Regions from separate parts of the Homo sapiens genome. Here region 1 is linked to region 2. Evidence: promoter capture Hi-C in 16 types of primary human blood cells and fetal thymus (Javierre and others, 2016). All regions are on one chromosome and are shown on one strand. Each heading gives the region's core, a stretch centred on a gene start or on the middle of the fragment in contact. The rest is flanking DNA. Distances are from core to core; before and after follow the strand shown. Region 1 overlaps CERS1 (ceramide synthase 1). Region 2 holds the start of REX1BD (required for excision 1-B domain containing).

The links. Contacts are between HindIII fragments. The CHiCAGO score rates a contact against its expected background, and 5 or more counts as called.
Region 1: a contact is called between a fragment that was not itself captured here and the fragment with the promoter of REX1BD in region 2, in 3 of 17 cell types (endothelial precursors, total CD8 T cells and naive B cells). The highest score is 5.9, in endothelial precursors.

The regions. Positions count from the first base shown.
Region 1 is chr19:18,877,231-18,882,531 of GRCh38, forward strand. It overlaps CERS1 (ceramide synthase 1), which reads right to left. Exons shown (of 8, transcript NM_021267.5): 4 at 3,044-3,205; 5 at 2,011-2,158; 6 at 1,700-1,809. It overlaps GDF1 (growth differentiation factor 1), which reads right to left. Exons shown (of 8, transcript NM_001492.6): 4 at 3,044-3,205; 5 at 2,011-2,158; 6 at 1,700-1,809. Among named protein-coding and RNA genes, the nearest start is that of CERS1, 16 kb to the right of the region's middle. RefSeq lists a silencer at 2,972-3,021. The HindIII fragment of the contact is 8,205 bases long and covers 1-5,301 here.
Region 2 is chr19:18,585,900-18,591,608 of GRCh38, forward strand. It overlaps REX1BD (required for excision 1-B domain containing), which reads left to right and starts at 2,899. Exons shown (of 5, transcript NM_001100418.2): 1 at 2,899-3,001; 2 at 3,096-3,178; 3 at 3,514-3,784; 4 at 4,955-5,034. The coding sequence starts at 2,903. RefSeq lists a silencer at 2,727-3,246. The HindIII fragment of the contact is 10,738 bases long and covers 2,138-5,709 here.

The DNA of each region.
Region 1 (5,301 bases), core at 1,622-4,121, 290 kb after region 2:
TCTGATGAGACATCCTCAGCGGGGACAGAGCCAGACACTGGTGGGGCTGGGAGGTCTGGCTTCCTCTTGTTCTGGGTTCTGCACCTCCGAGGATGTCCCCACCATGAGCTCACTGTTCTACAGCAAGAGGACCTTCCTGGTGTCTAGATGTGGCCAAACTGGTGCCCCCTTTAGCCATCGCCACCTTTGGAAGACTCCTTGGAGAGACCTAGCTGATCTCTGGAGAATTCCCGACTCAGGCCGGCTGCAGTGGCTCATGCCTGTAATCCCAGCAGCTTTGGGAGGCTAAGGCATGTGGACCACTTGAGCCCAGGTGTTTGAGACCAGCCTGAGCAACATGAGGAAACCCCAGCTCTACAAAAAATACAAAAGTTAGCACAGCATGGTGGTGCATGCCTGTGGGCCCAGCTACTTGGGAGGCTGAGGCAGGAGGATCACTTCCTGGGCCTGGGAGGCGGCGGTTGCAGCGAGCCGAGATCGTGCCACTGCACACTCCAGCCTGGACGACAGAGTGAGACCCTGTCTCAAAAAAAAAAAAAAAAAAGAATTCTTGACTCATGCTCAAAGGACAGCGCAATCTAACACCCTCAAAAGGAGGCTCCTAACGCCGCATCTGCCAGAACCCATGTGACCCTCTGCCCCAATCCCATCTCAGTCAATACCAGCTCGAGCCAAAAGTCTTGAGTCGTCTTTGATTCTTTTATTTCTGTTTCATCTACACCCAAGGCGAATCTGATGGGTTCTCCCTTCCAAACAGGGTGGGGGGTCTGACGCTCCTCTGCCTGGCTACAGCCCCGGATGTGTTAAATGTCTGCATCTCGCACCTCCCGTTCCAAAAAACGTCACGGAGCTCTGAGCCACTGCTTCCCTGAAACCATCGTTCCCACGTCACCGATGGCCCCCACCGGCCAAATCAGAGGGCCTGGCTGGTCGGCACCTTCCAGGGCCTTCCACAACCTCCTGCCCCGGCTCCTGCTCAAACACTCCTCACGTTGCCTATGAGACACTGCACACCCGACTCTGCTTGTTACCCAGTTTGGCCTCCGTTCATCCCTGGCCCAGACACCCCCTGCCTGCCCCAGGCCTGGGGCTTCGGACACCATCTGGCTGTCACCCAGGGCTGGTGAGGCTCGTGGGCTATCTCCTTCCCCAGGACTCCCACCTGGGCTGGACTGAGTCTGAGCTCCCAGCCCCAGCTCCTGTTTGGCCGGGCAGTGGGCTCCCCTGTCAAACTCAGAGGCCAGGATGTCTCGGCCCAGATGGAGCCTGGGTTCTCTCTGTGGCCCTTGGCGTTCCTTCCTCCCCAGCCCCACTGCCACCAGCTCCAGTGGCGACATGGGTCAGAGGTCGTCATCCAGGCTGGCCAGCAACTACTCCTCACCACCCACAGGGCCCTGGCTCGCCACTCCCGCCACACCAGCCACTAGGCCTGGCCCTCAGTGTCCCTACCGCTGAGACCCTGCCTGTCGCCCTGCCTGCCCCTCCCCAGCCTCTCCCTCCCCTTCCTCACTGTCCTGTCCTTCAGGGTACTGGCCACATCGTCCACGCCTTTATTGCAGTCTCTGTTTTGGAGTAGGCTTGGGGGGCAGCATCCGCGTCGGCCTCATCTGCTGCTGGGTCTTGGGGGCCTGCCCACGAACACGCTTGGACGGGTGACACTAAAGGAGGGAACGCGGGGTGCGGGCCCCTCCACACTCACTCGGCTTTGCTGGGCTTCAGGCTCTGGGCCTCGGCTGTGTCATACTCCCGCAGGTCCTTCAGCTCGTGCACCTGGCCTGTCAACACCTTGGCTGCAAACGCCACGATGTACTGCGAGAGGGGAGGGGAGGTGCCAGTGAGAAGAAAGCCCCCACGCCACTGCCCTGCTGACAGCCATGTGCTCCTGTCCCGGGCCCTCCACACGGGCTGTCTGCCACCTAACGTGCCCCTCCCCGGGACTGCCTGAGGAGGGGACAGGGATTGGGACGAGGACGGGACCGCCACTGTGGAGGAGAGCCGGGGCCGACTCACCAGGAACCAGTAGAGGTTCATAAGGGTGAGCAGCAGCAGGAGCGCATTGAAGAAGAAGTAGAAGGGGATGTCAGGCACCGTGCGCAGACTGCAGTGACTGGTGGCATACAGGACCTTGAGCGGGAACCAGTAGAGGCGGAACCAGAACCTGCGGTGGGAGGAGTCAGGAGGCCGTGGGTGGAGGGGGACGGTGCCCTACCCAGTCCCTGTCCTATCCCGTCCTAGACCCACCCTTGCCCCCTTATCCCATCCTTGCCCACCTCTGCCCACCTGTTTCTACTACTGCTCTGTCCTTCCCCTCCCCTGCCATGCCCCGCCCACCTCGCCAAGGCCCCACATCCTTCCCCGCCTGGCCCCCCACTTCCCTGCCAGGCCTCACCCACCTCGCCAAGGCCCCACCTCCTCCCCTTCCCAGTCCCTCCCCTTCTCTGCTAGGCCCCACCTACCTCACCAAACCCCACCTCCTTCCCTGCCCAGTCCCTCCCCTTTCCTGCCAGGCCCCACCCACCTCACCAAGGCCCCACCTCCTTCCCTGCCCAGTCCCTCCCCTTCTCTGCCAGGCCCCGCCCACCTCACCAAGCCCCCACCTCCTTCCCTGCACAGCGCCTCCCTTTCTCTGCCAGGTCTTCCCCACCACACCAAAGCCCTACCTCTTTCTCTGCCTAGCCCTACCCCAACCCTGCTTGGCCCCACCCCTGGCTTGCTCTGTATTAGTCTAGCTCTTCCCCTTCCATGCCTGGCCCAACCTATCTCACCAGGCCCCTCCCCTTCCTGGATCCACCCACCTCACCTGGCTTATCCTTTTCTGCCCAGCCCCACTCCTAGCTCAGTTGGCCCCACCCTTGTCCTACTCCTTTCCTGTATAGCCCCGCCCCTTCAGTCCCACCCAAATCATGAGGCCCCTCCCCTGTCATGCCACACACCCACCTCACCGGGCCCCGCCTCCTTCCCTGCCTGGTCCCGCCCCTTTTCTGGACACACCCACCTCACCAGGCCACACCTCCCTCCCTGCCCAGCACTCCCTACCACTCACCAGCTGAAGCCGAAGCTGAGGCAGCCCAAGTCTGCTGCCAAGGCATGCAGCCGATGGTAGGAGCCGCCGCGGGACTTGAAGTAAATGTTGAGCTTGGTGAACTCAAGCTGCACGTCACTGATATCGTGCAGGAAGAGCACAAGGATGCCCACATTGTGGTACCTGGGGGAGCAGCAGGCAGAGAGGAGAGGGCAGCTCACATTGGGGGACCTCCACTCTGCACTAAGGCCCCCAGCAGAGTCCCTGGGCTACACCTCAGGCTCCCCGTGGGCCTCTTCAAAGCCACCCTTCCTGCCTCGCCTGCCCTGCCCATCTCCACTTCCCAGGATGCCCTTTCCTCACTGTCCCCCACTTAGCCGTGCACCCCCAACCAGACCCTCATCTTCCCTGCCTCAGTGTCCCCATGTGGCCCAGGGAGCTCCCTGGAAGTTTATTTTTCTTTTGAGACAGGGTCTTGCTCTGTGGCCCAGGCTGGGGTGCAGTGGTGTGATCGGGCCCACTGCAGCCTCAAACTCCTAGGCTCAAGTGATCCTCCCACCTCAGCCCCCGGAGAAGCTGGGACTACAGGAAAGCAACACCACACACGGCTAATTTTTTTAATTTTTAGTAGAGACTGGGTCTTGCTATGTTGCCCAGAATGGCCTCAAACTCCTGGGCTCAAGCGATCTTCTCACCTTGGCCTCCCAAAGTGCTGGGATTACAGGCGCGAGCCACTGTGCCCGGTCTTGGAAGTTCCTTGCTGGCCCCTCCTCATCTTGGTGACCTCTGACCCTCTATGACCCCCGACTCTCACAGGCCTGGGGTACTCTGTGTCCAGATCCTCCATGAGCTTGTCCCTCACTTTGGACACCACCACCATGATGAGACTTCCAGGTCTGTACGTGCAGCCTGGCCATCGCTGCAGGAAAGGCCTCTGCCGCAGCCCATCAGGATCCTTTTTTTTTTTAATTTTTTTTTTTTTTTGAGACAGAGTCTTGCTCTTGTTGCCCAGGCTGGAGCGCAATGGCACGATCTCAGCTCACCGCAACCTCCACCTCCCGGGTTCAAGCAATTCTCCTGCCTCAGCCTTCCCAAGTAGCTGGCATTACAGGTATGTGCCACCACGCCCAGTTAATTTTGTATTTTTAGTAGAGACGGGGTTTCACCATGTTGGTCCCGCTGATCTCGAATTCCCAACCTCATGTGACCCACCCGCCTTGGCCTCCCGAAGTGCTGGGATTACAGGTGTGAGCCACCGTGCCCGGCCCCATTAGGATCTTAATAAGCCCGAAGGCCATCCCCTGTCCTTCCACAGAGTCTCCATCTGACAGATGAGCTGCCCGAGGGTCCTGGATTCACCCTGGACGTGGGGAAGTGTCTCTCACCAAGTCCCTGTTCCTTGCTCTGTCTCCTGACAGCTCCTGGGCTCCTGCCACAGGTCCTTTGCACGTGCTGTCCCCATGACCCAGCATGCCAGTGCCTGGCATTCAGCACCTCCCTTCACTCCTTTCAGTCTCTGCTCATCTGCTCATCTGTCACCCCCAGACCAACTAACACCTAACACCTGCAGCCACAATTTTTTTTTGGAGACACAGCCTCACTCTGTTGCCCAGGCTGGAATGCCTCGGCTCACAGCCACCTCTGCCTCCCGGGTTCAAGCGATTCTCCCACCTCAGCCTCTTGAGTAGCTTGGACTACAGGCACTCATCACCATGCCCAGCTAATTTTTTTATTTTTAGCAGACACAGGGTTTCACCATGTTGGCCAGGCTGTTCTCAAACTCCTGACCTCAGGTGATCCACCCACCTCGGCCTCCCAAAGTGCTGGGATTACAGGCATGAGCCACTGCACCTGGCCTTTTCTCCATAATTCTTATCACCTTCAAATGAACTGTTCCTTCCTTCCTTTTTGGTTCTATCATCTGATTCTGCCCTCTAGAGAGCCTTGAATTATAGAACTTTCTAGAACTATGGGAATGTTCTAAACCTGTACTGTCCAACATGGGAGCCACCAGCCACTTGTGGCCACTGAGCCCTTGAACTGTGGCTTGTGTGGCTGAGGAATGGAATAGGGGCTTTTTAAAATTATTTTTTAAACTAACCAGACGTGGTGGCTCACACCTGTAATCCCAGCACTTTGGGAGGCCGAGGCAGGTGGATCACTTGAGGTCAGGAGTTCGAGTCCAGCCTGGCCAACATGGTGAAACCCCATCTCTACTAAAAATATAATAATTAGCCGGTGTGATGTCATACCCCTGTAATCCCAGCTACTTGGGAGGC
Region 2 (5,709 bases), core at 1,649-4,148:
GTGCAGTGGCGCGATCTCCCTCACTGCAAGCTCCGCCTCCCAGGTTTGCACCATTCTCCTGCCTCAGCCTCCCGAGTAGCTGGGACTACAGGCGCCCACCACCACACCCAGCTAATTTTTTGTATTTTTAGTAGAGATGGAGTTTCACCATGTTAGCCAGGATGGTCTTGATCTCCTGACCTCGTGATCCACCAGCCTTGGCCTCCGAAAGTGCTGGGATTACAGGCGTGAGCCACTGCACCCAGCCGAGAGTTTTTCTTAATGCAGCTAGCCACCGGTTTGCCTTACAGGAACCCCATAATACGTCCTTGGCAAATTCTATTCAGCTCCAACTGCTAGGAGTGGCCCATTTGTCCTGAACCCTCAAATCATGGGAATGAGAAATGAATTTAGACTGACCACAGCCCTTATGAGTTTTCAGCTACAGGGGTGTATAGAACCCTGATAAGGAGTTTTCTTTGTGTGTGGAAGATCCTTCTATATTTGCCTCCCCACCAACTGGACAGGAACTTGTACTTTAGCCTACATAGTACCTCCTGTGACTTATTCCTTTTCAGAAGAGGCAGTAGCTGTGCCCATTCATGCTAAGCTTCAGCCGAGAGCAATCTCACTACTTCCTCTATTGGCTGGTTTAGGATTTACTACCACCTAGGAAGTGGACTCACAGCCTAGATGAAATCTCTCTCCAACTTACTCAAATCCAGGACCAAATAGACTCATTAGCAGCTGTGGTTCTCCAGAACCAGTGAGCACTAGATCTCCAATCTCCTCACTGCCGAAAGGGGAGGAACATGCCTTTTTCTGAACAAGGAATGTTGTTTTTATGTCAATAAATCAGGCATAGTGAGAGATGGAATTAAATGACTTCAGGATAGAGCTAGCAGACTACATGGTGGGACAACCGAAACTACCTCAGGGTTCTCACAGCCTGTTCTCCACTGGCTTCTTCCATTTTTAGGTCCCTTCCTTATGATTATTCTAGGAGTAACCTTTGGCCCATGTCTTTTCAGTTCCTTCATCCTTTCGTTTCTTCCTGAATAGAATCAATGAAACTAGAAATGTTACTGCAGATGGAACCTCAGATGACTTCAACCAGCACCTATTATCAAGGACCCCTAAACCAGCCTGCCGGCCCATACCCGGACGTTGACACCCAAACCACCTCTCACGAGGAAACCTCAGCTACAGAACCCCTTCTATGCCCCTATTCAGCAGGAAGCAATTAGAGTGGTCATCCTCCCACACCCCAACAGCAGTTGGGCTCTCCTGTTGAGAGAGGGGACTGAGGGGTGGAGTTGGCAGGATTTACTGGGCAGGTTTGGGGACTTTCACAGAAGACCCCTGTGACTCAGTGTTTTGAGTTCTTAACCAATCGAGTGAAGGATTCAGAATTAACCACTCCAGGCCGGGCGCGGTGGCTCACGCCTGTAATCCCAGCACTTTGGGAGGCCGAGGCGGGCGGATCACGAGGTCAGGAGATTGAGACCATCCTGGCTAACCCGGTGAAACCCTGCCTCTACTAAAAATACAAAAAATTGGCCGGGTGTGGTGGCGGGCGCCTGTGGTCCCAGCTACTGGGGAGGCTGAGGCAGGAGAATGGCGTGAACCCGGGAGGCAGAGCTTGAAGTGAGCCGAGATCGTGCCATTGCACTGCAGCCTGGGCGACAGAGCGAGACTCTGTCTCACTAAAAAAAAAAAAAAAAAAAAACAAAAAAAAAAAACACTCCAGAGGAGGATTGAAAAAAGAACCACTCTCAATGGACAAAAAGAAAGGGGAGGGGTAACATAGGGATATGAGCCCTAGCCACCGGAGCCAGCAACGGCAACCCTTCCGGGTCCCCTTCCAGCATGTGGAAGCTTTCCTTTCGCTTTGTTCAATAAACTGCCCTGCTGCTCACTCTCCTGGTCCGTGGACTCTTTTTGATCTGTAACACACACCGCGAAGGTCCACAGCTTCATTCTTCAAAGTTAGCGAGACCACGAACCCATCGGCAAGAAAAACTCCCAACTCACTAACAGCCTAGTCCCTTCCCCCTTAAAGGCTGGTGTCTGTCACCCCATACCTGAGCTGGTCCCTCTTCACTAAGTCAGGCTACCAGCATCTTCCTGCTCCTCCGGCTGGGCCCCTGGAGGAGGAAGCTTTCCAAAGCTCTGTCTAGCCCATGTATCCCTCCAGCAGGAAGCTCCAAGGCCTCCTCTGTACTTTGAGGTCGTTCTGGCCCCTGCTATGCTCCAGGCTCAGGGCTATTACACAAGACACCCAATTCAACTCGGTGGGCTGTTGACACCGTCCCTGTCACTGAATCTTGTCTTCACCCCTGTGATTCTCTGAAGAGCCAGTGAATCTCTGTTAATGTTGGTGGAGTTCCAGCCACTGCACTTTTTTTGAGGCAGACTCACTGTGGCTCCGGCTGGAGTGCAGTGGCATGGTCATAGCTCATGGCAGCCCCCAACTCCCGGGCTCATGTAATCCTCCCACCTCAGCCTCCCGAGTAGCTGGGACTGGAGGCGGGAGCCACCATGTCGGGCTAATTGGTTTTTCTGTAGAGATCGGGCCTCCCTAGGTTGCCCAGGCTTACTTAACACTCTTGAACGTCAAAACCCACGCTCAGTACCCGCTTCAAGTGGAAGTCGGTGTTGAGATACAAGCATAGGAACGAACTCAAGGCTAACAGCTGTTCTGTATTCAGAGCCGCACAATCAAGGAAAAACACGATCGGAGGCGGGCCCTGGACGGGAACAAGAAGGGTGGGCTTGACTGGGCGGCCCGCGGTCTTGGTTCCCCTTTCTTCCTTCTGGCTGGCCGGCCGCAGGGTAGGGGGTCCGTGGACCTCCCGGCCTGTAGGGGGCGTCGGGCGCAGCGGAAGGGCCTGCTCCGGAGCCTGGCCAGGGCTGCGCAGTCATGATCACCGAGACCGCGGCGGAGCCTACGGTCCCTGCAGTGCCTGCTGCTGAGGAGGCCACCGAAGCTCGGGGACGCGAGGAGCCGGCGTGGCCCTGGGTGAGCCCAGGCCCAAGCGGGAACGGGCGCGGGGCGGGCGGCGCAGACCCAGGGGCGCGGGCTTCATGCCCCAGCCGTGCCCCCTGTCCCGCAGAAAGACGCCCCGATCCGGACGCTGGTGCAGCGCATCCACCAGCTGCAGGCTGAGCGCGCGCAGGGCTTCCGCCGACTGGAGGAGTGAGTGGGGGCGCGGAGGGGCTCAGGGTTCGGTCCCCCGCCCGCTCCGGGCGTGGGCGTGTTCTCGGCGGGCGTGCCTGGAGGAGGAGCTGGGTCCTTGTGTGGCTGCAGAGTCAGATGGGGCGGGGATTTCGGGGCACCGGGTCCTCACCTTCACGAAAAAGGCCCCACAGCACGTCCCCACTACCCGACGACTCACTCTTCGTGGCTTCTCTCTCCTCCCCAAGAGCAGGGGTGGGCCTGTCTCGCGTTCCCCTGCGGGAGTCAGGAAGCGTCCTTCCTACCTACCAGTCCTCCCCTCTGGTGTCTGGGGACACTTCCTGGGGGCCTTTCAGGTGGTTGGCGCCGGTGCAGGGCCTGAGAGCCTGGGGGCGCGGCCTCAGGGTCCCCACATGCCGCAGAGGCCACCGCCAGTACCTGCGCAGCGGCCCTGACTACGACTTCGCGCGCTACCGGAGCACAGTGCACGGGGTGACCCAGGCCTTCGCCGCCGCCTCGCGGGAGGTGCTGGCGGTGGAAGCAGAGCTGGGCGGGCCTCGCAGGCAGCCGCTGCTCGCCGGCCACGTGCGCAGCCTGCAGGAGCTGGAGCAGACGCGGCTGGGCACGGTGAGGCCACCACCCCTTCCCCGCCGTGTCTCTAGGACCCTGGCCGGCTCCTCTCATGACGCACCCCTGGTTGGGGGGTGGTCCCAGTATCCCATACACAGACCTCACCCCTTCCTGTCCCACCCCAATCCTCTATTAAGGCTTCACTTGGGGATTCTCGGACCTTGCCCTCTGCTGTTCATCCCCAATTTTTTTCCCAAGTTTTGTCCTTATTCCCAGAGCACTCCCGCTTTCTCCCAGCTCCGCCTAAATGCTATTCCAAGATGCCCAGATCCCGCCCCAACAATGCTCCACCCACTCTGGTTGTTCCGCGTCTAGGGTCCCACCCTCAACCTCCCGTAGATACAGGCGAGGGGGGTCCCAGGCCACGCCTCCTCCGTATTATTCCTCCATCACAGCTTTAGTTCTTTGCCTATTTCTCTCTTGCGATCCGCCTGCTCGGCCCTGCAACCGTGTGTGACTGGAATTCCTAGGCCACGCCCCCCATGAGCGACCCGTCTCAGCGTCTCTTTGGCCTTTTTCTTTCTGGTGTTTTTTTTTTTTTTTTTTTTTTTTAAGACAGGCTCTTGCTCTCTTGCTCTCTCACCCAGGCTAGAGTGCAATGGCGCGATCTCGGCTAACGGCAACCTCCGCCTCCCAGATTCAAGCGATTCTCCTGCCTCAGCCTCCTGAGTAGCTGGGATTACAGGCATAATTTTTGTATTTTGTATTTTTTTTAGTAGAGACGGGGTTGTGCCATATGGGCAAGGCTGGTCTCGAACTCCTGGTCTCAAGCGATCCGCCCTCTTCTGCTTCCCGAAGTGCTGGGATTTCAGGCGTGAGCCACCGCGTCCAGGCTTTTTGGCCTACTTTTATCCTGGGTCCCCGTCCCTGGGACCATGAGGCGCAACCTAACCCACCCCTACGGCCAATGCCTGGCTAAGACGTCACTGTTGTTCCCAGGCCACGCCCACATCGCGCTCAGCACTGCCTCTGGCCTGCCTGCTGTCTCCTTTCTGAGAGAGCCTCTAAACTGAATTTCGGACTCTTCCTACACAAAGCACTGCCCCTCGTGGTTCTACCCGGGCACTGCCTTTCTGGGTGCCTCTGTTTTTTCCTGAACATCCTTGGAGGGCAGGGGGTGGGTTCTGCTCGTGGAGACATCCTTCGTGTTGCTCATTCCCCCACCAGGTGGCCCTGCTGCAGTTGATGGAGACGCCAGAGCTGGCGGGGCAGGAGGACGCTGTACGGATGCAGCAGCTGAAAATGAAGTGAGCGCTGCTGCCCAAGCCGCCTGGCTATGCTCGATTTGCACCAGGGTTGGCACGGTCAGGACGCTGCCAGCAGAGGAACCCTCTGCCAGTGCACAATGGTGTTCTCACCTGGTGGCCCTCAGATGTACACTTCCCCAGAGGGCACAGCCGTGAAACTTCACATCAGTTTCGCTGTGCATTGCTGGGACACTGCTGTATACCTCGACACATGCCAATCCTGCACACGTGGCTGTCCGTGGAGCTTGGACATGCCCCACTGAGCACAGACCTTCAGATGCCTGTCCTCAGCCCCCAAGCACACACACTCATGTACACACACATTTGACAAAGTCACACTTCATAACCTCCTAATGGTACACACCCCACCAAGATGGCCTTTTCTTTTCTTTTTTTTCTGAGATGCAGTCTCACTCTGTCACCAGGCTGGAGTGCAGTGGCGCGATCTCAGCTCACTGCAACCTCCGCCTCCCGGGTTCAAGTGATTCCCCTGCCTCAGCCTCCTGAGTAGCTGGGACTACAGGCGCGTGCCACCACGCCCAGCTAATTTTTTGTATTTTAGTAGAGATGGGTTTCACCATGTTGGCCAGGATGGTCTCGATCTCCTGACCTCGTGATCTGCCCACCTCAGCCTCCCAAAGTGCTGGGATTACAGGCGTAAGCCAGCACGCCTGG